Regions from separate parts of the Homo sapiens genome. Here all the other regions are linked to region 1. Evidence: promoter capture Hi-C in 16 types of primary human blood cells and fetal thymus (Javierre and others, 2016). All regions are on one chromosome and are shown on one strand. Each heading gives the region's core, a stretch centred on a gene start or on the middle of the fragment in contact. The rest is flanking DNA. Distances are from core to core; before and after follow the strand shown. Region 1 holds the start of USP25 (ubiquitin specific peptidase 25). Region 2 overlaps SAMSN1 (SAM domain, SH3 domain and nuclear localization signals 1). Region 3 has its middle 73 kb from the start of SAMSN1. Region 4 overlaps SAMSN1 (SAM domain, SH3 domain and nuclear localization signals 1). Region 5 overlaps SAMSN1-AS1 (SAMSN1 antisense RNA 1). Region 6 overlaps SAMSN1 (SAM domain, SH3 domain and nuclear localization signals 1). Region 7 has its middle 27 kb from the start of SAMSN1-AS1.

Evidence for each region. The method cuts DNA at HindIII sites, captures the fragments that hold promoters and counts their contacts. A CHiCAGO score of 5 or more calls a contact.
Region 2: a fragment that was not itself captured here is called in contact with the fragment with the promoter of USP25 in region 1 in 2 of 17 cell types (non-activated CD4 T cells and neutrophils); the score reaches 6.7 in non-activated CD4 T cells.
Region 3: a fragment that was not itself captured here is called in contact with the fragment with the promoter of USP25 in region 1 in 1 of 17 cell types (neutrophils); the score reaches 6.6 in neutrophils.
Region 4: a contact is called between a fragment that was not itself captured here and the fragment with the promoter of USP25 in region 1, in 1 of 17 cell types (total CD8 T cells). The highest score is 5.3, in total CD8 T cells.
Region 5: a contact is called between a fragment that was not itself captured here and the fragment with the promoter of USP25 in region 1, in 1 of 17 cell types (non-activated CD4 T cells). The highest score is 5.6, in non-activated CD4 T cells.
Region 6: a contact is called between a fragment that was not itself captured here and the fragment with the promoter of USP25 in region 1, in 1 of 17 cell types (neutrophils). The highest score is 6.5, in neutrophils.
Region 7: a contact is called between a fragment that was not itself captured here and the fragment with the promoter of USP25 in region 1, in 1 of 17 cell types (neutrophils). The highest score is 7.2, in neutrophils.

The regions. Positions count from the first base shown.
Region 1 is chr21:15,728,227-15,731,336 of GRCh38, forward strand. It overlaps USP25 (ubiquitin specific peptidase 25), which reads left to right and starts at 1,756. Exons shown (of 26, transcript NM_001283041.3): 1 at 1,756-2,212. The coding sequence starts at 2,168. RefSeq lists a silencer at 1,361-2,320. The HindIII fragment of the contact is 4,884 bases long and covers 764-3,110 here.
Region 2 is chr21:14,496,330-14,499,547 of GRCh38, forward strand. SAMSN1 (SAM domain, SH3 domain and nuclear localization signals 1) reads right to left here. Exons shown (of 8, transcript NM_022136.5): 7 at 2,113-2,263. The region is part of intron 1 of LOC124905053 (a long non-coding RNA gene); the gene reads left to right. Among named protein-coding and RNA genes, the nearest start is that of SAMSN1, 48 kb to the right of the region's middle. The HindIII fragment of the contact is 2,471 bases long and covers 367-2,837 here.
Region 3 is chr21:14,472,090-14,475,420 of GRCh38, forward strand. No RefSeq gene overlaps it. Among named protein-coding and RNA genes, the nearest start is that of SAMSN1, 73 kb to the right of the region's middle. The HindIII fragment of the contact is 3,531 bases long and covers 1-3,331 here.
Region 4 is chr21:14,530,623-14,533,481 of GRCh38, forward strand. The region is part of intron 1 of SAMSN1 (SAM domain, SH3 domain and nuclear localization signals 1); the gene reads right to left. The region is part of intron 1 of LOC124905053 (a long non-coding RNA gene); the gene reads left to right. Among named protein-coding and RNA genes, the nearest start is that of SAMSN1, 14 kb to the right of the region's middle. The HindIII fragment of the contact is 804 bases long and covers 849-1,652 here.
Region 5 is chr21:14,584,925-14,587,809 of GRCh38, forward strand. SAMSN1-AS1 (SAMSN1 antisense RNA 1) reads left to right here. Exons shown (of 5, transcript NR_046512.2): 2 at 438-614. It also overlaps a transcript of SAMSN1 not described here. Among named protein-coding and RNA genes, the nearest start is that of SAMSN1-AS1, 4.2 kb to the left of the region's middle. The HindIII fragment of the contact is 1,651 bases long and covers 442-2,092 here.
Region 6 is chr21:14,514,460-14,517,498 of GRCh38, forward strand. It overlaps SAMSN1 (SAM domain, SH3 domain and nuclear localization signals 1), which reads right to left. Exons shown (of 8, transcript NM_022136.5): 3 at 2,433-2,582. The region is part of intron 1 of LOC124905053 (a long non-coding RNA gene); the gene reads left to right. Among named protein-coding and RNA genes, the nearest start is that of SAMSN1, 30 kb to the right of the region's middle. The HindIII fragment of the contact is 3,266 bases long and covers 1-2,968 here.
Region 7 is chr21:14,607,577-14,610,738 of GRCh38, forward strand. It overlaps a transcript of SAMSN1 not described here. Among named protein-coding and RNA genes, the nearest start is that of SAMSN1-AS1, 27 kb to the left of the region's middle. The HindIII fragment of the contact is 9,758 bases long and covers 1-3,162 here.

The DNA.
Region 1 (3,110 bases), core at 506-3,005:
TTAAAGAAATGCTGAGTAAGTAGGAAACCCTCAGAAGTAAGCTGAAAATGAACAGTCTCAGTGGGCAAATAGGTCTACCATATAAAAGCTCTATTTGATGATTATCTATTGTAAGATCATCTTTTTTTTTCTGTATGGAAGTAACAAATTTAACTCAGAGAAAAGTTGTATTGCCAAATTCTTGAAATTAAACCTTAGTATCTGGCAACATTTTTCCTCCCATGGTACTAGATTACTAGATTTTTATGTTAAATTTAATTTTCTTGAATTCAAATGTATGAGCTTGATTTCTAAAAAACAAACAAACAAACCAAAAAACCAAAACCCTCATATGGAGAAACATGAAGTTAGCATATAAACAAGAAAAGAAGAAACTTTGATCTATAAATGAAGAAAAATGGGTTTTGATAAGCTCTCTTTGACAGGTCACCCTCCTTGGGCTTCAGAGTTATAAAAAAATCGATACGTGAGATTAGAGATGTGACAGTATTTCTAAATTTCTGTTTCCAACCGTTTCATGACTTTTCATTTCCTCTAGAAAAGACATAGGATATTAATATAATAAGATTTGCAATTTGTTAAATATCAAATGAGTCAACAAATATGAAGCTTCAAGGAAAAGGTGACAACAGGTGGTACCAGACATCTGAGCTGCAGAACAAAGATGGTTGTAAAGTGCACAGAACTGTTACAAAGCCTTAAGAGCTACTATAATCCATGATTATTAAATAACACCACATACTATTTCAATTAGCATTTGCCAAGCTTGCTTTCCTTGTCATTGGATTAAAAATTATACCCGGATTTTCAAGTGTATTCTATTTGTGACAATATGCATTGATAATTTCTCTCCTCACACTGCTGCACTCTCACCTCCGTTCCCAGATTAGCTCCTGGAACTCGAGATATTTTTGTGGCTAGAGATTGCTTTCTTAATGTTAGATTTTCCTTACAATTCCATATATAGTCAAGCATTCCATGCATGGTAGTTAATTGTTTGCTTAATTTGGCAACTGGGATATTAGAATTATGTATCATTAGGCAGTGATATTTTTGTAAGGTTGTTTGCTAGATAGATCCTATTTCATTTATATTAAGTCTTGGGAAGATAAACTTTATTTTTCCAGAGCCTAGCAGTGACTGACACATATTCGAATGAATGAAGGTAGATAGAAAATGTCTATATTCATTTACGTAATGATTAGTTAAGGAGAAAAGTACTTCCCAGCATAAAGATTTCTGGCAACCCTTTGCTTATTTGACTTTTCCCTTCAGGCAAGTTCAAGGCTTGTGAAATTCCTAGAAAGGCGAGGGGAGAGAACGCGTGACACAGAAAGGGGCCGGAGTTCGGGACCCTACGCAGTTTTGGGACGTTATGGGCATGGAGGGAAATGTTTGCTTTGGAGGCTTTGGGTAAGCTAGGGATCCGACAAGCCCTGGGCGCAGGGAGGAACGCTGCCCTCCGGCCTCCAGTCGCGCTCCCCGAAGCCCAGCGCCAGCGTCGCGCAACCTGCCGCAGGGGCGGCTCCCGGGCCAGGCAGCCAGGCGCGCCCTCGCCCCACCCGGGAACGCCAGGCCCGCGCAGGGAGGGGCGGGGCTCCATGGCGGCCCCGCCCCGCCGCCCGGAGGGTCACAATGTAGGGTTAGGGCGGCCGGCGGGCGGGGCTCTGCGGGGGAGGAGCCGCCGGGCGGGGGCGGGGATGGCGCGTGGGGGAGGGGAGGGAGGAGGACTCGCGGAGGGAGGAGGACAACGCCATTCCGGGCGGCCGCTCCCTCCGTCCCCTCTCTCCCTTCCCCAAAGCAGCCCGCGGACCGGCAGCAAAGGAACGTGCGAACGCGTGACGCCGCCCGACTGGCTCGCGCTCTCCCGTGCCCCGGCGTCCTCCGCCCGCTCATGGCCCGGGCCGCCGCGGACGAGCGGCGCTGAGGCGGGCCGCGTGGAGACGTGAGGCGGCCGCCGTGGCCCTCACAGTCGGCGTTTCGCCGCCTGCCCGCGGTGCCCGCGCACGCCGGCCGCCATCGCCTTCGCGCCTGGCTGGCGGGGGCGCTGTCCTCCCAGGCCGTCCGCGCCGCTCCCTGGAGCTCGGCGGAGCGCGGCAGCCAGGGCCGGCGGAGGCGCGAGGAGCCGGGCGCCACCGCCGCCGCCGCCGCCGCCGCCGCGGGGGCCATGACCGTGGAGCAGAACGTGCTGCAGCAGAGCGCGGCGCAGAAGGTGAGGCGAGTCCGCCAGCCGGCGGGCCCCACTTCTCCTTCCGACGGGCTGTCCTCTCCCGCTGCGGCCGGGCGCCCCGGCCTCGCCGCCGCCGCCTTCCCGGGCTTCCTCCCCGGTCACCCCCGGCCCCTGCCCATCGCCTCGGGGGCGTCGCGCCCAGAGCCCAGCTGCGTGTGGGAAGCAGAGTGTAGTTTGCGGGCTTCAATCCACTTCCTTCTGCCGATTGTTTTCCCGTAGCAGACGGTGCCAGGTATTGAGAGCGACCCTCACATTCCTACAGTGCTCTGTGTGGCATCTTAATGAAACTTTATTCTCTCCCCTTAAATGAGAAAGAATAGCTAGTTGTCATCCTTTCTGAACCGATTTTGTCTTTCAAAGGTAGTAGTGTACCAGGCCTGCTATTTTGCAAAACGGTCTCCACCAAAATCGAATTACCTGCCTCGCGGGGCAGGCGTGTTGACCAGGTGGACTCTAGAAGTAGGTGGTTTGCTTGGTTTCTTTTCCTTTTAAGGTTTCCCTTTCTTCTTCTTCTTTTCTGTTTTTTTTTTTTTTTTTTTTTTTTTCAATATAGAAACTGTCCCTAAGAGAGGAAACCTTTCTGGCCATGTTATTCCAGGAATCTTTTGTCCCCTAAGTTTGACCTTGTTCTTTCGTTCACCCTTTACTCTTGCATCAGTCACACATTCAAATGGTCACTCACTAAAGAAAACAATTAAAAAACTGTTTGTGAAACTTTATATCTTTAAAGTGAATAGAGATCATTCTGCTATTTTAGATTTTGCTTTCAGAATCTTAAGTGCACTATCATGGCTTGCACCATGTTCTGAAGAGTAGTTGGCCATGATTTAACTTCTTTTTTTAATTTTTAATTTGCGTGAAAAGCATTTTGGGCAAAAGA
Region 2 (3,218 bases), core at 352-2,851, 1.2 Mb before region 1:
CTGTTCGACTTCTTTGAAATTCATCTCCAAATTTTTGCCTCATCTGCAAATTGGGCAAAATACCTAGATGTGTGCTATTATGGAAGAAAAGCAATCATTTACAAGTGTTCAAAAAATACTCTTCTCCTCCCTGTACTTCATGGTCAAATCATTTTGGAGAGTATTGGCAATGACACTGGACATTGTCCATAATAAAACTCTATAGAATCTACTTCTAAGCCAAACATTGTTTAGTGAGGAGCCACGTCTTGAAATGACAAGATGTGAATGAAACTGACTCCTTTACCTGAACGAACTTACTATATCTGTTTACACTGATCAATTTTGTCTTGACTTGAAATATTGATTAGATTGGCTACTTTCTGAAGCTTGAACTTTGTCTGCCTCTGTGACCACATCTCCCTCTCTTTTGCATCTCCCAGCCTCACAACTTCAAAGAAAGCATATAATAACCTAGGCCTGATGATGAAATCAGTTCTGCTGATGTCAAATTAGTTATGCCTGTGAAAGCTCTTGGAAAAGGATGATAAGAATAAAGTAAAAACCAGTTTCTTAAAAAGTAAACTACTTTTCACTAGATAAAAAGCCAGTGTATAGGAAACGTGTGCTCTACCTCAGTTTTGTGGGACTTATGAGAGAGAGTATAGAATAGCCCACAAAAGGACAATCAGGAGGCCTGGTCCCTAAATAACGCTTTCCTCCCTCCTCACTCTCCATCTGGGCTGTTACTTGTAGTGTTAGAAAGTATAACACAGCAGCACATACATTGGGTTGGAATCCTAACTCTACACTTCACTAAGGGAGTGTTCTTAGACAAGTTACTTGCTGTCTTAACTCATCATAAAAATGAGGGCGGTAGTGTCTAACTCAAAGAACTGGGGTAAGTACTCAAGAGAATAATCAGGAAAGACCCTGGCCCAGAGTCTTGCTCAGAGCACATATGTTTTAAAAATGTAGTTAATAATTACTAGTATTATTTTTACTGCTGGGTGCGGTGGCTCACGCTTGTAATCCCAGCACTTTGAGAGGCCAAGATGGGCGGATCACTTAAGATCAGGAGTTCGAGACCAGGCTGGCCAATATGGTGAAACCCCATCTCTACTAAAAATACAAAAATTAGCCGGGTGTGGTGGCATGCCTATAATCTCAGCTACTCGGAGGCTGAGGCATGAGAATCGCTTCAACCTGGGAGGCGGAGGTCGCGGTGAGCCGAGATCGCACCGCTGCGCTCCACCCGGGACAGCAGATTTAGACACCATCTCAAAAACTAATAATATTAATACTAGTAATTATTATTAGTAGTAGTATTTTTTGATAGAGAAGGCTGGATTTGATTATCTAAGTTCCTTTTTATCTTTAAAGTTAGACTTTCCCCTTTTGGTTGCTCACAAAATACTCCTTGCAGAGTTTGGCAAACCCTAACGTCAGTGTTTGGGGGCCTGACCGGATTTGGCAGGAAAGGCAGTCTGGATGGATAATTATAAAAAATAAAAGCTATCCTATCTTTACAAGCCTGGTTGCTGTAGACAATATTCTGTAAATCTCCAAGATTATTTCATCTTCAGTTAATACTTACAAATACAGAGAACCATCTCAGATAATAAAAGTGAGTGCTGAATATTTTTGCAAGCTATTATAACATTTTGAAAGAGTACTATAAACATGTACAAGATGTGACTATGTGGTCATAAAATGAGTTTTCCTGTGTGCCATGAAGGCTCATTATCTTAAAGCCTCGTGTTGTTCTACAGAAGCCATGTGTGACATTTCGCACTAATGGCTTATGCTGTTACTAAATACTTGTCTCTAACTCCCTCAGTCTTTGGGAATGCAGGCATCCACTTGCATGTAAATTAATAGCTTTGCAGAGTGGAAATGAGGTACCCAGAAAAGTCCTTTCATTTCCTGAGTCCAATAAGGAAATAAGTTCCTTTTCCTAATTACATATTTGACCAGAGTTATTGTTTTCAAACTTATATGAAAATACCTATTTTATGGGAAAGCGTGCTTTCATGATCTCAGTAAATAAAACTGGGGCTTTGTTTCTAATGATTATACTATTTACATTAAACTGATTATCAGCTGGGGAGAAGAGTAGGTGTACACACTTACTTTCTTCTTCAAGGAAGTTTTCAGCAGCTGATAGTAACCTTCTTCTGTCATCTGGGTTTTCAATATTTAATTCAATGAGGTGACTCTCTTTTATATCTTTTAAATCTTCTAGAGTCTCATAACCATTGAGCAAAAGTGTTGAGGTGTATTCCTGTAAGACAAAAAATATAAAGCAAATTAGTCAGATTCAAATATTTTATTTTTAGTTCTCTTTAGATTTAAAGAAAGTATAGAGATGCACATGGGGACCAAAGGTGCCAATAGAACTTTTACTTAACTTCACTTGTATTCGTTTCTGACATATGAACTCCAGGGCTCTTAAATGATTATGTTGTATAATTCTCGCCTTTTGGAAGGCCAAATGTAAAGAAGAAATAATTACCTTAAGCTATACAATTCCAAATCATGGATAAATTAAATAGTTGGATCATGCATCCCATTTGGAAATGTTTCACTTCTCAACTAACTAAATTGACAGAACTAGCATTACTTTAAGTCTATCAATAAAATGCCTCTAGCAGAGTAGCATGCTACAGCAATATTTCAGAATCTACATCTCTTCTTGTTTTCATGATTGCAAAAGCATCTACTCTCAAAACATTCTTGGGGTAGGTTAAAAAATGAGTTTGAAACAGATGTAATTCTATACAAAAAAGTGGGTGTAGCATTTTGATTGAAAGGCATTATGTAAACCAAAAGAATTGGAGACTTTCTATTTAATTGGAAGCTTTTACTAAGCATAGAAGCACTGTAGTTGGGGAAAGAATTGTTTTCTCAGCATGTATATTTTGTCCGTCATTTGAATCAATATGTATTAGTTTAAAATTCATAGGTTTCCGATTTCAAAGTCTGTATGTTATTTTGAAACCTCTATCCTCTCAAACAAAATAAAAATATTAAGTGAAGTTGAGTGCTTTTTCAACTTCTTCAGATTCCTCCTATTTTACTTGCTCTAATTTCAATATCCTTATTTTAATTACTAAAATAGAATAAGAGGAAGTCTAAAAGTTTTAAGTAATCAGGGAGAACTTATGACCACCCCTTTTTAACAAAAAAAAAAAAAAAAAGGAAGAAAAGCAAGAAGAATGACAATTCTTTCTTTAAAA
Region 3 (3,331 bases), core at 368-2,867, 1.3 Mb before region 1:
ATAGGATATTTCAAGAGTTAAAATGCTTTTAATTCAGCTAAAATAACAAATGTATTAGATAATTACATTTCTCTATATCAACACTGCTGCACACATTAAAATGGGAGGCAGCTTTGAAATTATTGAAGAAAAGATAGATTTTTATTATAGTAATTTATATGATGTCTAATTCATGTCTCAGAAATGCACTTATAAATAATCCTTAAATTACATCTTTCACTTATATTTGAAGAATTTTTGGCTTTTTTCAGAGGAAAACTATCCTACACCTCTTACAGCACAGTAAATAAAACATTTATAAAGGTAGGTAGTAAAAAAGGGACAGTCTAGAAAAATCTATATAAATCAGGATCCTGAGAGTTCTTTTTAAGATTGAGGATGAGAAGTAATTTTTCTCATTAAAGTCCCTTGTGTGAATAAAATAGTTCAATATTTTATAAATATTTAATAAATTATTATTTCCTACAACTTATGAGTGTTTGGACAATTGAAGCTATGTTTGGAATATGAGTATATGTCTGTCTATGTGGGGAAGAGATGATGATAAATGCCTGACACTATGTGTCTTGAAAAAGACTAGGCAAAAGAATTTCTAAGTTTTACAGAAGGCAGAAAGGATGCTTAGTGGGATTCTTTATGGTACAAATTTGAAAGTGCCTGATGGAAGTGCTTCTTCATGCTTAAATCTTAAAAGTATTAATAATAATATTATATGATACAAATAATGAGCTGGGCAGAGGTAAAATCTTGCAGAAATCATACTAGATGCTTTACTTGTTTAAGTTTCCCAACAACACTGCAATGTGGACATTAACCTCCCCTTTACATTTGAATAAACTGGATCTTAGATGCTTAAGAACCTGAAGCAAATAAGTGTTGAAACTAAGCATGATCCCAAATCCCTCACACGCCAAACTTTACGTTCTTGTATTGCATCATGTTGATTTCCTGTGCTGAGGAAAAAGTTATTTTTCCTTTTACTATCTATAATATAAGTAGTTATTTGCATACTGGTTCTGGCACTGTCTTACACAGGACGTTCCAATAACTGCCAGTCACATAGCGACGATTATGCTTGATTAAGCAGATCCAGTAAGTACTTGATCGACTTTTTCCCATAAATGCTGACATTCTGCAGCCAAAGGGAGAATAACACTTGCCATTATTCTGAGCACTCTGTGCATCTCCCCTCGTCCCTCCCAATAATACCTGGCCCTGAATTTCCTAAGATCAATGTTCCCAGATTATTAGACTCAGCCCAGATTCCAGGGTTTCCATCAAATTCTTCCTGGGTAATTTGAGATTTTGAGTTCTATAAGTACTACAGGCAGACAGGTGACAATTTGTGAGATTTGAGGGTATGTTCAGCAGGTATCATTGTTGCTATTGGTCATTCTATCCCAGATAATTCATTGTTAGCAATGTTGAAGTCCTCACAGTGCTCCAGAATCCTCTAGAAATACATAGGAAAGAGTGCTTTCAAAATTGTTAATGCATACTATTATAAGAATATAAATATCCCCACAAGATAACCTGATAGCTATTGGCTAGCACATTGTTTTATAGTCTGCTGATTGGATGACTTCAGCCGTTTCTCAAAAGGTGGCCCAAGGTTCCTGTGTATCAGAATTGCTTGACAATTTTGATACCCCTCTGGGCCCTATCCCCCTGCCTCAGATTATCATACCCTCTAACTTAGAGTATTAGAGGAATATAAGTAGCTTAATGTAATAAAGTTTAATTTTATGTAGCACTCAAATGGGGGTCAAGCAACATTCCCGAATGCTTTCCTCTAAAAATGACCCAGGGATTTGAGCTCTTCCTTTGGTGGGCTCCCCGTTTCAGTGTTCCTTGCTTGCAGCCATATAGATGAAGAGATGAAGGTAGCCAAAGAAAGAGTAAGGAAAACCTAATGAGAGGAGGACATGAATCTCAAAGCAGATATTATGAGTCAGGCCCTACCATTGACGTGAACTGATTACAAGGACCCAGCTGAATGCAAGAGGGCTGGGAATATACCCAAGAGGCTAATAAACATGGTTTGGGGAACACATAGCATTTTCTCTGCTTCGTAAGTTATGTGAGTAAGGCTGATTAGAATGGAGAAAAGCAAAGTCAAGTAAGCATGCCACGTTTTGATTGAAATGGAATTTTAATGGGTACCCAACAATGCCTTTATAGTTAATATAAGCCTGTGTAAAGAAGATGTGATCATAATGTGACTTTTAGGCAGGTTGTTTTCATTTCCATACATCTGCATTATGGTCTTTGGGAAAATTCACATGGGAACTGTTGATAAGGAATATCTGAAATCAGGGCCAGCTTCATGTAACCTGTGTTGTTGCACAGGGCTGTGCTCTCACAAAGGTCCACATTTGGCTTAATGCTCTGCTATTGTATTGCTGTCTTAAAATTCTTAATCATTTTGAACAAGAGGTTGTGCATTTTCATTTTGCACTGGATCCTTTTTCTAAGCACTCAGGCTGTCTCCCATTACATAGCTGGTCCTACCTGAAACTTGTGCCTTATCAGTGATTAAAATTAAGGCTTCAAGGATAAAATGAAGACATAGTCTTTAAGATGCAGTCAATGCTAATTGATCTTTTAGAGAAGACAAGTTACAATAATAAAGTTCCAAGGGTGGGGGTGTGGGCTCACACAGGTGCATGTGAACATGGGCCTGTGCAAAGTTTATTAGGAGCAATTTGTTTTAATTGATATTCATTGGGCATCATTCCACTGTTTATTCTTACCTACTCATGTGAAGAGTTGGTTGATGTCAATTGCACAAACATTTGTTTCAGAGAAATGGGTGTTTCAGTTGGATAAATTTTAATTAAGTAACCTTTACTGTACAAGTAGTTGCTTTTGAAGCCAGGAGAAAAATGACTATAATTTATTAATTCTATAATCCAGAATCTGAAGATATTGAATCTTGTCTACTCTAACCTTGAATATAATTTTCACTATGAATGTCCTAAATATCTGGCCACAAGAATAAGGAATACAAAACATTTCCAATGTATTGTTAAATTCTTCTCCTATTGCAAATGCCTAGGCATTTAATTATTAATTAAATAATTTAATTTATTTATTATTATAAATTTATTAATATAAATTAAATAATAATTTAATTATTCTCAAGCTCATATATACAGGACTTGATTGCTGATGCTGGTAAGCAAAGTAGCCAAAAGTCTTGAATTTCCAGATCATTTGGTTCTGAAATAATTTATTTGTGATTGCTGCTTCCACACCACTTGTATACATTACTACTGTAGTATATCACATTTCATAGGGATGTATTTATTTATACATATGCCAAAGGACC
Region 4 (2,859 bases), core at 1-2,500, 1.2 Mb before region 1:
AAAGTTTTCAACTCATGCACCAGCATGGATAGTTGGTCGATGTTTCATGAAGAGCTGTGTTGAGAAGCGTTCTAAAGCCATTTTCAGAGTTAAAAAGTCATGATTAACTGTGTCCACAGTGGTTACAGAAGATAGTGGGTGTTTAGGGGAAGAAGAGAGGAACTGCATTTGCCACCTCTACTCAAATTATTTCCCTGAGCAAATTTTGCATTACTAATTTTGTTATCTAGGTACCTTGATACAGGGAGGGCAATTCAAAAGATGGATGACTGAAATTTTCAATTTACAAAAAATATACATTATTCTTCCATAAGTTTGGAAATTAACTGTCTTTTCTATGCATATTTTATTTTTCTATTTATTATAGAATATTAAATAATATTTTAACTAGTCACATCATTTTCAACTATTTTAATTCTATAACTAAACAAAAACAAATAATTCTACAAATAAATAATTCTGCCTAAATAATACTGCTGTATAGGATATGGCAAATAGACAAAAGGTAATATTGAAGATGATGGTTTAAAAAAGCAACTATTAGTTAAGAGAAGAATAACTTCGAATATTGATCTCAATAGACCTTACTACATTAACCATAAACTTAAATACCAAATTTATTCTGGTTTTTGTAATAAGTGACTGATTTTTCTATTTGTTGTACTGTTAATAAGATTTATCATATGTATTTTGTATAGTGTCATTAATCTAAAAGACAAACTATTAAAAGTATAAAAGAGAAATTATGTCTATTCAATTTTATCATCAAAGGAGTTAAAAAAGAAAACCCAAGAGTAACATTATTAGCTAAGTTAAATTGAGCAATTTCTTTCAGGATCTTAGATGTAAGCTTTTTTTTTTCTTTTCAATAATCAGAGAGAGGAAATCTCAAAAATTTTTTATTATCTAACATGATGGAAGAATGTGCAGTACTTTTAAGCCCCAAAACTTTTAAACATACGTGATAATTGAGTATGCTAACAAAACTTTAGTTTCCTGAAATATTTCCTAACAGTTTACCCATCTCATCTTTACACTAGTAAATTCCAGTCACTCCAGATTTTAAAATAAAATAAAATTATCACCAAGAGGCAAACATTTATAGTACTCATTACTTTGAAATTATGGTTAAATAAAGATGTAAAAATTAAGTTGGGAAAACAAAATCCTTTTAACCAAATTTCCTATCAAATTATCTGGAACAAAAACTCCCTTTTACTTCCATTAGTCTTAAAAGTCCTCTGCATTCACTTGGCCTCTGGGTACACAGTAACCTTTCTAAAGGTCTGCCCAAGGGATATTTTAGTCATTCTGTGATCTCCTTGAACACAAGTAATGACAAACAATAAGCTAATTCTCAAAAAGTTTTTTTTTGAGTCATTTTTACTACTTTTAAATGAGTGTGTCTGATGCATGATTTTGGGCCCCCTGATTAATGGTCACCGCCAGCCCAGCTTCTGGAGTTGTAATGTTTCCGTGAGCTTCCCTCCAGCAGAGCTCGACCATTAATCCAGTGGCATATGTCAGCTCAGCAGAGCAAGGTCACTCTTCTGTTTCAAGGGGAACCTTTTTAGAAATAATAAAACTGACAGAAAGTTCTTTTTTGCATGCTTTATGCCACCTGAGGTTGAGTGCTGCAGTTAATATCATAAAGCTTATAAACATTCCCATCCCAGGAAGCACCCACTGCTGCTGGTCTTAGGAATTTAAACACTTTTTTTCTTAGTAAGAACAGACATGTTTATGTGGGGGCAAATATATGGTATGTCATCCCAAATAGAGGAAGAATGGGTGGGAAAATAAAACAGTAAGTTCATGTTAGGAAGTTTGGAAGAGATGTTAGTGTCCTATAACTATTTTTATTGTCAATTACATTTATTTACCTTTTAGAAAACTGGGATTTGGTTAGATGAATACTTCAATCTCCTGAGGGGGTTAATAGCAGAGTTGAAATATAAGAGTAGTGGTAAAAAGAAACTCAGTTTATAATCACTCCTTGACCTATAATGTAATGTTCAATAATTGTAGAACATTTATCTTTGAAGGAACTGTATTTTTAAAGTTATAAACATTTGTTTTATTGGTAATGACTTTTTCATAATTGATAATTAAATACAGTGAGATAGTCATAATCTTAAAGTAATTTGAAATTTTTAGATGTCCTAACATACAAATCAAACAAAAGATAAAAGATGATTGCTATGTAATAACTTACAATATAAAGAAACTATAATCATAAGTATTACAAAATGTACATATTTAATATTTTATTACTTTTATTATTTATTTATTTATTTATTTATTGAGACAGGGTCTCTTGCTCCAGGGTTGCCAAGACTGGAGTGCGGTGATGTGATCATAGCTCACTGTAACCTTGAACTCCTAGGCTCCAGCAATCTCCTGCTTCAGCTTCTTGAGTAGCTGGGACTACACATGTGCACCACCATGCTCAGCTAACTTTTATTTTTTTTATTTTTTGTAGAGACAAAGTCTCACTATGTTGCCCAGGCTGGTCTTGAACTCCTGTCAAGCAATCCTCCCACTTCAGCCTCCCAAAGCATTGGGATTACAGGTGTGAGCCACCATGCCCAGCCACTCTTATTTAATTAAAAATAGCAGTAGCATAACTGTAACCACGTAAAGTATTCAGGGGAAAAAAAACCCCAGAAAATTCCAATTTGCTCTTTTTAACCAAATACTGAGACGAATGCCATATCACTATGTAGATTTTGATACAAGGTAAATTTGACTTGACTCTTACTCCAGGAGTTTAAGCTGTTAAAACTATAAAAAATATAATAAAGAAACTTAGTTATTTAATTGTATTCATTTTCCTTTTGTAGAGAAAATGTACCTGGA
Region 5 (2,885 bases), core at 17-2,516, 1.1 Mb before region 1:
TCTTTGTTCTTTAAGAATGACTTTGCACAACCAGTATAAACTTGTTGATCTGTCTCTGCAAAATAGCACTTACGTAGGAAATGTGACGTTTTTGTCAGAGGAACCCTACCTTTTTGCATTAAATAAGTGGGAAAATATTGAAATCATTTTAATCTTTCAGAAAGGACTGTGATGAGATATGCTTAGAAGCACAAAATCTTCCCTCTCTTTCCAAAGGCCATGCTCTGCTCAACACAATTTCTATTGCTGTTTATTTTTTTGTATTATTTCTCAGTGTTTCTTTTAGTGCTTTCTGAGTTACTTGATTTTATAGACCCTTTACAACTCAGGAAAGGCCATTTTCTACTCTTTAGACCCTTTCAGAAATAATAAGATGACATTGCACAACCATTTTTTCTTTGTTGTGCTTCTATTCTTATGGCAACTTCTTGTTACAGCCAAAGCTTAATTGCTCCACTGAAACACTGGCAACAAAAATCGTCTTCTCTTCTCCCTTTGTGAAAAAGGCTTTCACTTAATGTGGAGAAAGGTATTATATACCAGGGAAATGGAACTTTGTATAAATGATTTTCCCCCAAGAGGAACTAAAGCATTTGGAAGGTATCTGAATTCAGGTAAGTAAGATCTCATGTCCTAGAGGTTTTAAAACAAACTGACCTTTCATTATTTTGTTCACATTCTATTGTAGCCTTTTTAAAGCATGATATTGTTAATTTTTGTATCTTTATTCACTTTGAGTTACTGGACATCAGTCTACTGCATTTTATTTATTTTTAAAAATCCTATGTGCCTAGGATTGTACATGGCTTAATAAATATGTACTGAATGTAAATACAATCCTAATTTTATACATGTTTTATATACAAAATGGAGTATCCATAGTACATGTTTGATACTAGACTCATTACTTTCTAGTAGCAAATTATTTCTGGACAACCTCCTCTTGTTAATAGGTACTATATATCCAAGGGATGAAATTTAGAGTTAATATTATTATAAAAGGTATAGAATCATTACAACTATGTATTAAAAAGAAAATGTATTCAGATTAAAAATACAGCCAGGTGCAGCAGCTCATGCCTGTAATCCCAGCACTTTGGGAGGCTGAGGTGGGCGGATCATGAGGTCAGGAGATGGAGACCATCCTGGCCAACATGGTGAAACCCTGTTTCTACTAAAAATACAAAAATCAGCTGGGTGTGGTGGCATGCACCTGTGATCCCAGCTACTTGGGAGGCTGAGGCAGGAGAATTGCTTGAACCCGGGAGGCAGAGATTGCAGTGAGCCGAGATCGCACCACTGAACTCCAGCCTGGGTGACAGAACGAGACTCCATCTCAAAAAAAAAAAAAAAAGAAAAAGAAAAAAAAAGAAAAATCCTCAAATATTTTTCAAATAATAACCCTATTTATCTCAATTCTCTTATCCATTACCTACATATTTGTACTGAATGTGATTGATTAAGTTTTATAGTAACATACCTTTTAAATTTTAAATGTGTTCTAAGAAGATTAACCCATAAATTAAACCTAGCATTCAACAAATCAATAAACTTTTATTTGAGCACCTAGTAAATGCCAAGCACTATCTCACATTCTGGGGATATGGCATAGAGGAAGTAATATGAGATCACAGTTTTTATCAAGTCTAATTCTAGAGGGAGGTGACAGGCGATAAACATATAAACAAGTATATAAACATAAGAATGTGACATAAGAAATGCTGTATTAATAATTAACAGGGTGATTAGTGAGGATGCAAAAAGAGGGTTTATTAATATACTGATCAGGAGGAGCTTCACTGAAGATACTAAAGCTGAGGCCTGAATGATGAGAAGGAACCAGATATGTGAAGATTTAGAGAGGGTTTAGAATTCAGCAGATGGTCAGAAAGAATATTTCACCTGAGACTTGCATTGGAGAAAAAGTCAGCCAGGCAAGTAGCAGAGAGAAGAGAAGTCTTGGAACACAATACAGTTTGCAAAGGTTCTAAAGCTGGAATTTCTGGAAGAATGCTTAGTATGTGCCCATGAAGGGAAAGAAAGGAAGAGTACCAAGAGATGAGCCCAGAGAATAACAGAGATCCTTCCAGGAAGCTTCTGTAGAGCAGGTTGAAGAATATGGAATATCTAATCAGAGGGTGATACAACTTGGTTTACAGTTTTGTTCTTCTCTCTCTACTGAATTTTGATTTTCCATTTCAATGGACTCTTCCCAATAGCATTCAAATGTGCTTCATGTTATTCATCTTTACTTCACCATCTTTTATTTACCACTTTTTCTATTCTTCTTTGATCCTAGGCATTTGTATCAAAAATGTGAACTATGTATGCTTCCTTTAATTCTATTAACTTCTCATCCTTTTAATCTATCTCATCTATCAGCTTTCATCTCTACCATTCCCTTTTAATTGTCATTTTGATCTAATGAGCCATTCTTAAACTCCTTTACTATTTGATATTCAGCAATGTTGACCACAGTGACCTTCTGGAAACACTCTCTTTTCTTGGCTTCTGTGACACCATGTTCCTCTGATTTTCCTTTTGCCTTTTTTGGCCCTTCCCTCTATAACTCCTATATGCTGACACCTTCCTTTTCTTGAAATTAAATTTTGAAATTACTTAAGGATTAACCCTGGCCTTTTATCTGATATCACCACCATTCTCTTCTCATGTGCATGCATGCACACATACCACTTTTAATATCACTTATATGCTAATGACTCCCAATTTATTTCTTTCCCCAGGCCTCTCTGCAGAGCTTCAGACTCACATATCCAACTATGTATTTAAAACAATTTTTTTGTTGTTTTATCCATCACCTTATTTATTTATTTATTTATTTTTTAAATTTTTTTTATTACACTTTAAGTTTTAGGGTACATGTG
Region 6 (3,039 bases), core at 86-2,585, 1.2 Mb before region 1:
TAAAAAGAATGGAAAGCAATTAGGGGATTATGATAGTAATCCAGGAAAGAAAGGTTGGTTATTTAGTCTAAAGCAGGAATAGTTTACATGGAGAAATTAGGGAGTTTATATATACGTGGTAATACAATTCAGAGAATTTACTGATGAATTAGTGTGAAAAGTGAGAAAAAGAAGGAATTTAGGGTGATTCTTAGATTTTCTTTTCTTCCTATTTTTTATATTTTTGTTTTTATTTATTTTGGGGATCAGTGTTGTCTGCTGCCACTGGGAATACTGGATGAGAAAACCATTTTTTTTGTAAAAGTGTAGAGAATAAATATATTAGCTTTGGATATATTAGGTTTTGGATGTCTACTGGACATCTAAATGAAGATATCAAATAAGCAATTGATTGTATTAATATAGCAGATAAGTGAAGAGGTCATAGCTAGAGATATAGTTGTGAAAAACAAAATCATGAGAGTAGATGAGCTGACTTAAGGGGAGAATGTAGATTCAATGGAGCATCCAGGAACAAGCCTCAGGAAGATGTTTCAAGGGATGAGAAAGAAAGCAGAGCCAAGAAAGGAAGCTATGAGGAAGAAGAAATGCCAGAAGCATGCCTAGTCAAAAAAAAACAAGAAAAGTGGATGTTTTATATGTAAGGAAATCAGCACTTGGGTCAAATACAGTTGAAAAGTAGTAAGGAGAAAGAAAAGTGACCATTGGACCTGGCAACACAGAGGTCACTACTGACGGCGACAGCTATTTTAATGGAGTACTGGAGACAGAGCCCTGTTGAAGTGGATTGAAAAAGAGAATGGACATAAGACATAAAAATCAATAAAGTAGAATTGGGAGTCCATAAGTAAACTCACTTATTTATGATCCATATATTTATGACAATATATTTATGGTCAATTGATTTTTAACAAGAGTACCGAGACAATCAAATAGGAAAAGAATAGTCTTTTCAACAAATAGTGTAAGGACAACTATATATCTACATGCAAAAGAATGAAGGTGGACTCTTCCTATATACTGTACAGTAAAATTATCTTGAAATAAATGATACACCAAAATTTAAGAGACTATTGGCCTCTTAGAAGAAAACATGGGAATAAATCTTCATTACATTAGATTAGACAATGGTTTGTTAAATATGTTACCAAAAGCACAAGTGACCAAAAAAAGATAATTGGACTACAATAAAATTAGGAACATTTGTGCTACAAACAACACCATCAAGAAAATAAAAATACAATCCACAGAATTGGAGAAAATATATTATATTGCATGTCATATATCTGATAAAAAACTTGCATCCAGAATATATAAAAAACATTTAAAACTCAACAATAAGAAGATAAATAACCCAATTAAAAACGAACAATGGATTTGAAAAACACTTCTCCACAAAGATAGATAAATGGCTAAAAAGCACATGAAAAGATTCTTGACATTATTAGTCATCAGGGAAACGTAAAGTACAACCAAATGTAAATCAAAATCACAATGAGATTCCACCTCACATCCACTAGGATGGCTAGTATTAAAAAGACAGACAATAACAAGTGTTGGCAATGATGCAGAGAAATTGGAACCCTCATACATTGTTGATGGGAATGTCAAATGACACACCTGCTTAAAAAAACAATTTGCCAGTTTCTCTATTAGACATGGAGTTACTATATATCCAAGAGAAATGAAAAAATATTTCCACACAAAAATTGAACAGAAGTATCTGTAGCAGCATTATTCATAATAGCCAAAAAGTGAAAGCAACCCAAGTAATCACTAAGTGATAAATGGATAAAGTAAATGTGATCCATCTATAAAAGGAGAAATATTATTTGGCAATAAAAAGGAATGAAGTACTGATACTTGCTACTAAATTAATGACATGTTGTTCTTCACATTGTTCTTCGCATCACATTCTAGATGCATGATCTTTTTTTTTGTTTTGTTTTTTGAGACGCCATCTTGCTCTGTTGCCAGGCTGAAGTTCAGTGGTGCAATCAGGGCTCACTGGAACCCCCGCCTCCCGGGTTCAAGCGATTCTCCTTCCTCAGCCTCCTGAGTAGCTAGGACTACAGGCGTGCACCACCATGCTCAGCTAATTTTTGTATTTTTAGTAGAGACGGGGTTTCACCATGTTGGCCAGGCTGGTCTTGAACTCCTGACTTCAGGTGATCTTCCCGCCACGGCCTCCAAAGTGCTCGGATTACAGGTGTGAGCCACTGCACCCAGCAGATGCATGATCTTTCTGAGTGTCAGTTTCTTCTGTTAAAATGAAAGTAATACTTCCTTCCACCCAAGTTCTGGGCATAATGACTGAGGAAGAAAACAAATGCTTAAGTACTTCATAAAGTACCAAGCACTTCTATAGTCTAGCTGAATAGTTTAAGAAAGTTTTAGTAGAAAAATACAAATGATTATCAGAGAATATTTACCTTTTCCTCAGAAAGGGCTTTGATGTACTTTTTACCCACTTTTTTCTTCATTGTCCATGAAATAGCTCTCATTTTTTTACCCAAACCGCCTCCATTATTTGAAGTTTTACTTTGTTCTCCACTTCCATTTGTGGGATCTCCTTCATGTGCCTAGTTTAGAATTGTTTACAAAAGACAAAATAATAAAGCAATAAAAAACATTGATCTGAAATCACTGTTACAGAGAACATTCTGAGTTTGTGGATTTTGCATGCATTCTGTGCAGCAGCCTCCAAAATTTCTAACAATCCGGACATAACACATATTTTTAAAGTTGTCCAGCCCTGGTTGCTTGTGTTACGAACTCAGAAAGTAAAATTCGTGATGTTAAAGGACTTGAGCCTCACATCTGCAACTCTTTTAGAGAATTTTGACTATTTTTTAAATAGCTGTATTGAAGAATCATTTTATTCCCTCTTCTTGAGATGAACAAATAATATTAAACACCAGGTATAAGGAGTTCTTATGTCTACATAGATGAGAAATATTTTATTGGAAGCTTTAGATAGGCTGTAGCATCTATCTGTGTTGAATAGGCCTTAAAATATCCTCTTGCTTCTCATAGAAA
Region 7 (3,162 bases), core at 43-2,542, 1.1 Mb before region 1:
CAAGACCCTGAGAAATATCAAAGCTGGGAAAAATTCTGTAAAGCCTTTCTTTCTTCCTTCTCTGACAAAGCAACCAGAAGTAACTCATCTAAGGTCAGGATTCTTTGCTGCTTTTTCAGTGTAGCTATAATAGAATTCCGTGCCTATTATTCCCAAATTAACAAAACAAAACAAAAACATACATAAGAGAAAGGTAGTTTTAGGAAATAGAATGCTTGAAGAAATTTATGGAAAAATTTACATCTAAAATAATCTGTAACACCATTATACCTTCTTTATCCATAGATCAACATACAATAATCTAAAATACAACATGTGCTTATAGAAGGATTAATAGATAAATGGAATGGCGGATGAATAGAGAAACTGATAGACAAATGTTTGATTAACTGACTGAAGGTGTGGATGCATATAGCTGGCATCCATGTGGTAAAGACAGAGTCCAATCCAAACATGATAGAGAGGGAAGTGGAGCAAAGTGGCTGAATAGAACCCTCAGTAATCATCCCTCTCACAGGAATACCAACTTGAATGGCTATTCACACAAGAGAGCACCTCCATAAGTAACTAAAAATGAGGTGAGTGATCACAATACCTGGTTCTAACATCATATCCTTGAAAGAGCCACTAAAAAAAGTAGGAAAGGTGGTTTTGGATTGCTGACTCCACCCTCCTCCTCTATCTCCTGGTAGCATCCTCATGGTGCTGAGAGAGAATATTTGTGCTTGGGGAAGGGAGAGCAAAGTTATTGTGGGACTTTGCATTGACCTCAGTGCTGTTTCTCACAGTGGAAAGCAACACAGGGCAAAATTCAGCTGTCCACTACAGGGGGAGCATATAGACTTGCCCCCACATTCTGACTAGCCCCTCCACAGTGGGCTGAAGCACTTTGGGGTCCTAAGTAAACTTGAAAGGCAGTCCAGACAACAGGGCCTGAAATTCCTGGGCAATTCCTGGTGCTGTGCTGGGCTCAAAGCCAGTGGAACTGAGGTGCACATGATCTAGTAAGATATCAGCAGGAGTGGCCAAAGGGATGCTTTCATCACCCCTTTCCCAATCCCAGGCAGCACAGCTTGCAGCCTCGGGAGAGACTCCTTCCTTCTGCATAAGGAGAGGACACAGGAGAGTGAAAGGACTTTGTCTTGCAGCCACAGTAGAATAGGGCACTAGGCAAACTCCTAAGGTTCCCAATCCATTCTTCACTCCCAGGTGAAATTTCTAGACTCTTGAATCATCAATAGCTAAAATAATCAATTTTTTTCTCATTCCAATAACACTTGGGGGTGAATACCAAGCAGATCAACTTTTGATACGGTTTTTCATCTTTGTAAACTCTTAAGACTTTCTGTTTTATTACTTGCCTTCCCAAAGTTAAGTACTTTTAATTATGAAATTACATACTATTAATATGTTATTCTATACCTGACTCCTAATTTGCTCTCCTGGAAATTTTTACATTATAAAATGACTCCATTTTATATTCATAATCAAGGTTATTTCTCTTAAATTTTTTAAGAAGACTTAAACATAACTATTAACATATCAATGTTATCTTTAGAGAGTTTTCTCGTGCTCTAATTTTTAATATATTTTCAAATTTTTTGTACATTAAAACTTTCAGTTTTCTTTTCAATTGCTTATTTGCTTCAGCAGGCAACTTAACCAGATTCCACTTCCTTTCTGTACATGTGTCTATGTGATATATATACACATATATATATGTATACATGTATATATTAATAGTTTATAATAATGCATATTCTATTCTATCTTATTTGGTTTTCCTTTTTAAGTAGACCATAATGGTCTGCTTATTTTCATGGTGGAAGATGTGAATTTTTCTTACCTGCCCTTTAAACTACTTTGGGAAAATGCAAAGTCAGCTGAACTAAATTTAGCAATTACCTTTTAGCTGACAGGGCCTTCTGATGTGGGAATCATTCTTATGCTTGCTGTGTTCCTGCCAGATTTTGTCATTCACAGTTTTTCCTTCTAAAGTGAAGCAGATAATTGGTTAGCAGAATTCATAGTAACATTTGTCCAGTAAGTATAAGACATTTGAAATCAAAACAAGTTCAGCACAGGATTTGCAACTTGGTAAGTGGTATCTTAAGAGAGCTCTAGTTCTAGGTGATGCAGGAAGTCAGGGACCCCGAACGGAGGGACCGGCTGAAGCCATGGCAGAAGAACATAAATTGTGAAGATTTCATGGACATTTATTAGTTCCCCAAATTAATACTTTTATAATTTCTTACACCTGGCCTGTCTTTACTGCAATCTCTGAACATAAATTGTGAAGATTTCATAGACACTTATCACTTCCCCAATCAATATTCTTGTGATTTCCTATGCCTGTCTTTACTTTAATCTCTTAATCCTGTCATCTTCATAAGGTGAGGATGTATGTCGCCTCAGAACCCTGTGATGATTGTGTTAACTGCACAAATTGTTTGTAGAGCATGTGTGTTTGAACAATATCAAATCTGGGCACCTTAAGAACAGGATAACAGCAATTTTCTGGGAACAAGGGAGATAACCTTAAAGTCTGGCTGCCTGTGGGCCGGGCATGATGGAGCCATATTTCTCTTATTACCAAAAATGGATAAGAGAAATATCGCTGAATTCTTTCCCCAGTAAGGAATATTAATAATTAACAGCCCTGGGAAAAGAACGCATTCCCAGGGCGGGGCCTCTAAAATGGCCACCCTAGGAGTGTCTGCCTTATGTAGCTATGGATAGGGATGAAACATGCCCTAGTCTCCTGCAGTGCCCCCAGGCTTGCTAGGATTAGGAAATTCCAGCCTGGTGAATTCTAGTCAGACTGGTTCTCTGCTCTTGAACCGTGACAATGCATGCACATCAGGACATGGAAGTTCATTAGTGATTCTAGTTTCACCCTTAACTTCTGCCTTGTGATCTTTTGTCGCCCTTGAAGCATGTGATCTCTGTGACCCACACCCTATTCGTGCACTCCCTCCTCTTTGAAAATTGCTAATAAAAACCTGCTGGGTTTGTGGCTCGGGGGCATCACAAAACCTGCTGACGTGTGATGTCTCCCACAGATACCCAGCTTTAAAATTTCTCTCTTGTGTACTCTTTCCCTTTATTTGTCAGACTGGCTGACACTTAGACAAATAGAAAATAACACACGTTGAATTATCG